Linked DNA regions of Homo sapiens: regions 2 and 3 are each linked to region 1. Evidence: promoter capture Hi-C in 16 types of primary human blood cells and fetal thymus (Javierre and others, 2016). All regions are on one chromosome and are shown on one strand. Each heading gives the region's core, a stretch centred on a gene start or on the middle of the fragment in contact. The rest is flanking DNA. Distances are from core to core; before and after follow the strand shown. Region 1 holds the start of WT1-AS (WT1 antisense RNA). Region 2 overlaps CCDC73 (coiled-coil domain containing 73). Region 3 overlaps EIF3M (eukaryotic translation initiation factor 3 subunit M).

Evidence for each region. The method cuts DNA at HindIII sites, captures the fragments that hold promoters and counts their contacts. A CHiCAGO score of 5 or more calls a contact.
Region 2: a contact is called between a fragment that was not itself captured here and the fragment with the promoter of WT1-AS in region 1, in 1 of 17 cell types (M2 macrophages). The highest score is 5.0, in M2 macrophages.
Region 3: a contact is called between a fragment that was not itself captured here and the fragment with the promoter of WT1-AS in region 1, in 3 of 17 cell types (megakaryocytes, erythroblasts and M1 macrophages). The highest score is 9.1, in megakaryocytes.

Annotation. Positions count from the first base shown.
Region 1 is chr11:32,434,185-32,436,963 of GRCh38, reverse strand. It overlaps WT1-AS (WT1 antisense RNA), which reads right to left and starts at 1,446. Exons shown (of 5, transcript NR_120548.1): 1 at 1,118-1,446. WT1 (WT1 transcription factor) reads left to right here and starts at 1,425. Exons shown (of 10, transcript NM_024426.6): 1 at 1,425-2,264. The coding sequence starts at 1,604. RefSeq lists promoters at 1-326, 1,230-1,332, 974-1,624, 426-1,624, cis regulatory regions at 785-804, 897-1,023, 1,008-1,045 and enhancers at 1,352-1,384, 2,492-2,779. The HindIII fragment of the contact is 4,267 bases long and covers 979-2,779 here.
Region 2 is chr11:32,609,801-32,612,579 of GRCh38, reverse strand. It overlaps CCDC73 (coiled-coil domain containing 73), which reads left to right. Exons shown (of 18, transcript NM_001008391.4): 17 at 1,315-1,448. Among named protein-coding and RNA genes, the nearest start is that of EIF3M, 27 kb to the right of the region's middle. The HindIII fragment of the contact is 7,325 bases long and covers 1-2,779 here.
Region 3 is chr11:32,591,084-32,593,862 of GRCh38, reverse strand. All of the region lies in intron 5 of EIF3M (eukaryotic translation initiation factor 3 subunit M), which reads right to left. It also overlaps the pseudogene HNRNPA3P9. Among named protein-coding and RNA genes, the nearest start is that of EIF3M, 8.6 kb to the right of the region's middle. The HindIII fragment of the contact is 1,357 bases long and covers 676-2,032 here.

The sequences.
Region 1 (2,779 bases), core at 197-2,696:
CCCAGCCCGGGCCAGCCAGGTACAGGAGGCCGGACTGCAACCGGTTGCTTCCCTCCCGTCGCGCCTGGCCGTCCCACGCTGCGCCGTCGCTGCTGCCTCCTGGCGCCCCTGGGATTTTATACGCACCTCTGAAACACGCTCCGCTCCGGCCCCCGGTTCTTCTCCTTGCCTAGGGGTTGTTTCCCAATAGATACTGACTCCTTTAGAAGATCCAAAAACCAAACCAAAACACCCCCTACCCGCCCCAAACACCTGCTCTGGGGCGCGGGGGCTGCCAAACAGAGACTAGACGAAGGGAGTCAGATTTAGCGAAGCTCTTCGAGCTCCCAAAGATTCGAACACTAACTCGCGCCCGTGGGCCGATGGAGGTTCTCCCTACTCCACTCCTTGGTCCCCTTAACTGGCTTCCGCCTCCTGGTCAATCACTGAGCAACCAGAATGGTATCCTCGACCAGGGCCACAGGCAGTGCTCGGCGGAGTGGCTCCAGGAGTTACCCGCTCCCTGCCGGGCTTCGTATCCAAACCCTCCCCTTCACCCCTCCTCCCCAAACTGGGCGCCAGGATGCTCCGGCCGGAATATACGCAGGCTTTGGGCGTTTGCCCAAGGGTTTTCTTCCCTCCTAAACTAGCCGCTGTTTTCCCGGCTTAACCGTAGAAGAATTAGATATTCCTCACTGGAAAGGGAAACTAAGTGCTGCTGACTCCAATTTTAGGTAGGCGGCAACCGCCTTCCGCCTGGCGCAAACCTCACCAAGTAAACAACTACTAGCCGATCGAAATACGCCCGGCTTATAACTGGTGCAACTCCCGGCCACCCAACTGAGGGACGTTCGCTTTCAGTCCCGACCTCTGGAACCCACAAAGGGCCACCTCTTTCCCCAGTGACCCCAAGATCATGGCCACTCCCCTACCCGACAGTTCTAGAAGCAAGAGCCAGACTCAAGGGTGCAAAGCAAGGGTATACGCTTCTTTGAAGCTTGACTGAGTTCTTTCTGCGCTTTCCTGAAGTTCCCGCCCTCTTGGAGCCTACCTGCCCCTCCCTCCAAACCACTCTTTTAGATTAACAACCCCATCTCTACTCCCACCGCATTCGACCCTGCCCGGACTCACTGCTTACCTGAACGGACTCTCCAGTGAGACGAGGCTCCCACACTGGCGAAGGCCAAGAAGGGGAGGTGGGGGGAGGGTTGTGCCACACCGGCCAGCTGAGAGCGCGTGTTGGGTTGAAGAGGAGGGTGTCTCCGAGAGGGACGCTCCCTCGGACCCGCCCTCACCCCAGCTGCGAGGGCGCCCCCAAGGAGCAGCGCGCGCTGCCTGGCCGGGCTTGGGCTGCTGAGTGAATGGAGCGGCCGAGCCTCCTGGCTCCTCCTCTTCCCCGCGCCGCCGGCCCCTCTTATTTGAGCTTTGGGAAGCTGAGGGCAGCCAGGCAGCTGGGGTAAGGAGTTCAAGGCAGCGCCCACACCCGGGGGCTCTCCGCAACCCGACCGCCTGTCCGCTCCCCCACTTCCCGCCCTCCCTCCCACCTACTCATTCACCCACCCACCCACCCAGAGCCGGGACGGCAGCCCAGGCGCCCGGGCCCCGCCGTCTCCTCGCCGCGATCCTGGACTTCCTCTTGCTGCAGGACCCGGCTTCCACGTGTGTCCCGGAGCCGGCGTCTCAGCACACGCTCCGCTCCGGGCCTGGGTGCCTACAGCAGCCAGAGCAGCAGGGAGTCCGGGACCCGGGCGGCATCTGGGCCAAGTTAGGCGCCGCCGAGGCCAGCGCTGAACGTCTCCAGGGCCGGAGGAGCCGCGGGGCGTCCGGGTCTGAGCCGCAGCAAATGGGCTCCGACGTGCGGGACCTGAACGCGCTGCTGCCCGCCGTCCCCTCCCTGGGTGGCGGCGGCGGCTGTGCCCTGCCTGTGAGCGGCGCGGCGCAGTGGGCGCCGGTGCTGGACTTTGCGCCCCCGGGCGCTTCGGCTTACGGGTCGTTGGGCGGCCCCGCGCCGCCACCGGCTCCGCCGCCACCCCCGCCGCCGCCGCCTCACTCCTTCATCAAACAGGAGCCGAGCTGGGGCGGCGCGGAGCCGCACGAGGAGCAGTGCCTGAGCGCCTTCACTGTCCACTTTTCCGGCCAGTTCACTGGCACAGCCGGAGCCTGTCGCTACGGGCCCTTCGGTCCTCCTCCGCCCAGCCAGGCGTCATCCGGCCAGGCCAGGATGTTTCCTAACGCGCCCTACCTGCCCAGCTGCCTCGAGAGCCAGCCCGCTATTCGCAATCAGGGTAAGTAGGCCGGGGAGCGCCCCCTACGCGCGGGGCAGTGGCGCCAGGGACTCTCCGCTCTAGGACACCCCCCTCTCCTACCCCTTTTGACCGCAGCTCTTACCCAGCTGCTTCCCAAGGGCCGTGAGGATAGCGGAAGCGGCGGCTGGGGAGGAGGCCGGAGAGTGGGAGTGCACGCAGGCACTGGCCCCCGACATCCTCCAAAGCCAGGCAGAGCTAGGAGCCTGACTGTTCGCAAGAGCCGGGAGGGCGTCTGGGGCCCCTTAGAGTCCGAGAGATTCCGGGACTGCTAGTCCCCACGGGAGTGGAACCAGGAGACCGGCGCAGTGTCTGGCTCTGCCTTGGGGAGAGTTTTGTTAATTAAGGAAACGCCAAATTGTCACCAAGCGTAGCGCTTTTCAGACGTCTGGACTCTGGATTCGGAGTGGGACCAGCGCGGGGGTGAGCGCCTGTGCTGTGCTGCCTCCGCAGCGCTAAAATGTCCAGGAGCACCTCCAGCCCTTATAATACGGTGT
Region 2 (2,779 bases), core at 75-2,574, 180 kb before region 1:
TTTTTGTAGAGACAGGTCTCACTTTGTTGCCGAGGCTGGTGTTGAACTTCTGGGCTCAAGTGATCCTCCTGCCTCAGCTTCCCAAATTGCTGGGAGCCACCACACCCGGCCTGAAAATTTTTCACAGTATTTAAAAATAAAAACATACTAGATTATCATGAATTGGTGCTGTATAAATATAAATTGAAAATAAAAAGCAGTATTTAAGAAGTATGATCATGAGGAAAATGGTTTTTTAATTGTTTTTATTTTTGGGACAGCATGTTTTCTTTTAATAGCAATCTCATAGTCAAAAGTTGCTAAGGTTGTTAAAGGCATTCTTATATTTTAAGGGAACTTTGTGGGTTTAACATTGTGCACTTAGACACCTTAAAAAGATGCAGATTCCAAGGATAGCTTTTATATGGCCCTCAGATTTAACAGGCTTCTTTTAAAAAGGAAATTGAGAAAAATTTAAAGAGACTATTTGGTGATTAAAAACAAAAACATATCTTGTTTACTACTACCAATGGGAAATAATGTAGGCGAAAATCAAATAACCAAAACACTGTATAACCTCATTTCCCAAACTGCAATTTTTCAAGGTCACAAAATATATTACTTAAGATTCCATTAACTTTTAATTAGGTATTGCTTTAGGTGCTGGTCTAAAAATCTACCATTTTTTTTGAAGTCCTTTCTTGTAATTAAATTTCAGTGATATATAAGATACAAAGGGTGATATCTAAAATTCTGTAGAAATTCAACTTGTAAAATACTCTTAAATATGCCATCAGTATCTTTTAACCTTCATAATTTACATACTTCTCTAACTCATTTCTATCAATTTATTAAAGCCCAATGTGACCCCTTCTAAACAGCCCTTTGTTGGACTTCTCACTGTGGCCAATTTCTTTAAATAGTTTATAAATCTGGTATGTAGTTGGTTCTGACTTTTTCCATTAATCTGAGTTGGTAAAATATTCACTATACAAATGCTTACATGTGTGGGAAATACAGTAACCAGGGGAATAATGATAACATTTTATGAGTTATTTTGTTTTAGAAGGTATTTATACCATTTCTTTCACTGCTTTTAATGTGGAATTACAGTAATCAGGTTTTAGAAAGTAGCAATAATAAAATCTTGTTTGTTTTCAGAAATGAAATGCCTAATTTAAGAGCAAAGTCTAGGACAACTGCAAAATATTCAACATTAAAATAGAAATTTGTTGCTTTTTAAATACAAAAGCATAGGATCAGAAACAAGTTCAGTCACTAAAATGAGTACCTAGAGAAAAATTCAGTTGTTGCCATTTCCTCTTTATCAATCAGATACTACCAGCATTAACAGAGTTGCTGACACTTTGAATAACTGGAGTATCCATCCAGATCCCAAGGGAGAACCCAGTGAAGAGAAGAATGCAATGGCAAAGACTTTTTATGATTCCTCTTTTCCCACAGAACATGTAAGTCAATTAAAAATATTGCCGAGCAGACCTTAGTGAGCTAATTCTACAGATATGTGTAGAACTGTACGCATCTGGATGCTTTAAGACCTAACTGATCTCCAAAATAATATCAAGAGGGCAACATGGCACCATTTTTCACAATTAAGGTTGATAGAAAACAGCAGGAAAAAGTCACAGTGTATAAATCAAATAGATACAATCCAGCCTGTTTGGGGAAGGAGAGTGTGAGGCATCGGATATGTACTTCTATTTCTTACTCATCTAAATTTGGAAATAGTGGTATTTGAGCATTTAAAATTTTATGTTAATAAAAGGTTATGTCTAAAAGTAAGCTAATCAAGTCCAATTGTTTTTAATAATCCTTAAGTAAATTCACATTATTTTTGGAAACTGAGATGGAAAGAATTTAAAACTATTTCAATTAGAACACGTGTGAAAGGATCAAGTATCCATGTGATACTGTATGGATATATGTATTAAAGTATTTGTAGAAATTATATGGCTTCCAGGAGTCTATTTGTCATATAGAAAGCAACTAACTATAGCAGGAAGGTTATCTGGTTAAATGTGTAAGTTTTATATCATAGTGTATAGAACTTTAAGCAAGAAAAAGGTTGTAGTGTTCAAACTATTAAACAACTTTCTCTTTAGCATATACAAAATGAATATTATAGTACTAACACATCCTTAACAAATAACAGCTTTTAACAATGTATTTTATTTTCCTTTCTAAATAGGAGAAACCTCAAGTGAGATAGTATAACTCTTCTGGGAGAGTTGAGACAAAAATCAGGAACTATCCTTGATATGGTTTGGCTTTGTCCCCACCCAAATCACATTTTGAATTGTCACTCCCACAGTTCCCATGTGTCATGGGAGGGACCCAGTGGGAGGTAATTGAATCATGGGGGCGGGTCTTTCCTGTGCTATTCTCATGACAGTGAATAAATCCCACAAGATCTGATGGTTTTAAAAATGGGAGTTTCCCTGCACAAGCTCTCTTCTCTCTTGCTGCCGCCATGTAAGAACTGCCTTTTGCCGGCCGGGTGCAGTGGCTCATGCCTGTAATCCCAGCACTTTGGGAGGCTGAGGTGGGCGGATCATGAGGTCAGGAGATCGAGACCATCCTGGCTGACATGGTGAAACCCTGTCTCTACTAAAAATACAAAAAAAAAAAAAAAATTAGCTGGGCTTGGTGACAGGCACCTGTAGTCCCACCTACTCGGAAGGCTGAGGCAGGAGAATGGCGTGAACCCAGGAGGTGGAGCTTGCAGTGAGCCGAGATCACGCCACTGCACTCCAGCCTGGATGACAGAGCGAGACTCCAT
Region 3 (2,779 bases), core at 105-2,604, 160 kb before region 1:
AAAAGAAATATTGCTTTAGGAACTTGAAAGCATTACTGCTATTCATTCATTTAAAATATTTTTAAGAGGCAGGTACTGTGCTGATGACATTATAACGGTGACTAAGAGAGACAAAGTCCCTGTCTATGGGAAAAGTCATAAAACCTTCCTTTTAGTAGGAAAGATGGACAACTAAGGAAAAGTAACTAATAAGTGCTATGAAGGAAATAAATGGTGATTTAATCAAAGCAACAAGGGCAGAAAACGGAAAGGCCGCTTTATGTACAGTGGGAAAGCAGTCTCCCTCAGAAGAGATGGCAAGTAAGCTGAGACCAAAATGATGTAAAATATCCTTTTCTTGGCCATGAAAAGAGCTGGGTTCATGAAAGGTGGGGTAAGATGACTTTCCAAGCAGAGGGAAAACCAAGTATAAAGGCCCTAGGCGCAAAAAAAGTTTTGTGTCCCAGAAACTGTTAGGACAGTATGGCTGAAGTTGAGACAATACCAAATATTTAAATAACTCTACTTAAGATACCCTTCCAATTAAATTATTCTTACAGTTATATACATCAGTTTCACTGGAGTAAATAGGGCAAAATAAATAAATGCAGTCATTCAAACTGGACTTTTAGAAAATGTTTATCTTTACTCCTCATGACTTCTTTAAACTGTGGAATCTTCAGCTTATAGAAAGCTTTGCTAACTAGGAGGAAGAGGTTTTTCTTTTCCTTTTTTCATTTTCTAAAAATACTTACTCCCCACATCTGAGTTTAGCCTGGGCAAAATCAGCAGGAACTGTATCATTTATTTTAAAATGGTAAATGCTATCTAAAACTTCTTTCAAAACTAAGGTTTACTAAGATTCAGAAATACCACTGTAGGCATGGCTAAGTGGTAACCCGCATCTTAAATGTAGTGATATAAATGCCTAGGCACAGTGGCGCATGCCAATAGTCCCACCTACTAAGGAGGCTTGCTTGAGCCCAGGAATTCAAGGCTGTAATGCACTACAATTGCACCTGTGAACAGCCAAATACCCACTGTACTCCAGTGTGGGCAACATGGTCAGACCCTGTCTCTAAAAATAAAAAATTAATACTGAACTCAACCTGGAAGAGGCCATGATCCAAAGGAGCCAGAGCAGCTAAAAAAAACTGTTTATTGGTGGTCTGAGCTTTGAAACTAGAGATGGTAGTTTTAGAGAACATTTTAAGAAATGGAGCACACTCACAGGTTGTGTGGTAATCAGAGACCCCCAAACAAAATGTTCCACAAACTCTGGTTTTGTGACTTACTCTTGTGTTGAAGAGGTGGATGCAGCAATGTGTGCTCAACCACACAAGGCTGAGGAGTGCAATGGAACCAAAGACAGCTGTTTCTAGAGAGAGTTCTGTAAAGCCCAGTGCCCATCCAACAGTGAAGAAAATTTTTGTTGGTGATGTTAAAGAAGATACAGAAGAACATAATTTGAGAGACTACTTTGAAAAGTATCGCAAGATTGAAACCACAGAAGTTACAGGAGGACTGGCAGAGTGGAAAAAAGAGAGGATTTGCTTTTGTAACTTTTGATGATCATGATAAAATTGTGGTTCAGAAATAACACTCTATTAACAGGCGTTAGTGAAGTGAAAAGGGCCCTTTTTAAACAACAGATGCAGTTGTGGAGTGGATCTAGCAACTTTATGGGTTGTGGAGGAAACTTTGGAGATGGTAGTTTTGGCCATGGGTAGAAACTCTGGTGGAAGAGGAGGATATGGTGCTGGGGTGGTGGCAGCAGAAGTAGTTATGGAGGAGGGGTTGCTGGATATAATGGATTTGAAGGTGATGGTGGCAACTACCGCAGTTGTCCTGGTTTTGATAGTAGAGGCGGGTATGGTGGTGGTAGATATGGTGGCAGCAGTGGAGGATATGATGGTTACAATGAAGAAGGTAATTTGGGGAGTGGTAATTACGGTGGTGGTGGGAACTATAATGATTTTGGATATTACAGTGGACAATGACAACCAAATTATGGACCCATGCATGAAAGGGGGCAGTTTTGGTGGATAAAGCTTGGGCAGTCTCTATGGTGGTAAATATGGTAGCACAAGGTTCTAAAAACAGCAGAAAAGGGCTACAGTTTTTGGCAGGAGTGCAAGCAAGGAGAAGTCAGAAAAGCTGCAAGTTACTTTGAGGCAATCATCCAAATGCATTAGAGGAACTGTAAAAATCTGCCACAGAGGAATGATGATCCACAGTCAGAAAAGTTACTGCAGCTTAAACAGGAAAGCCTTCTTGTTCAGGACTGTCATAGCTACAGGTTGCAAAAAGTGCACTATTGATTAATGCAGTGTAGTGTCAATTAGATGTACATTCCTGAGGTCTTTTATCTGTTGTACCTTTGCCTTTTTCTTTTCATTACATCAGGCATGTTACCCTGTAAATTATGGTAGTGTAGTGGTACCAGGAATAAAAAACTAAGGAATTTTTAACTTTGCAATAAAAATTAAAATTAAAAAGTATAATGACTTAACTATAAAAATTCAAAGAAAAACTTTTAAAAAACCACATCTTACTCATTAGTTATCTTGTGCCACACTGTAAGCACAGGTGCAAGTCATTTTCCAGTTTTAGCAACTACAGTATACTTCAACCTTCTCAGCTAAAGAAATCTTTTTAATCCACTTGAAGCACACAGCATGGTGTCTGACATGTAAGGGCTTAGTTACCAGTAACACCCTTTAAAATGCACAACAGGCCTGGTGCGGTGGCTCACGCCTGTAATCCCAGCACTTTGGGAGGCGGAGGCGGGAGGATCACA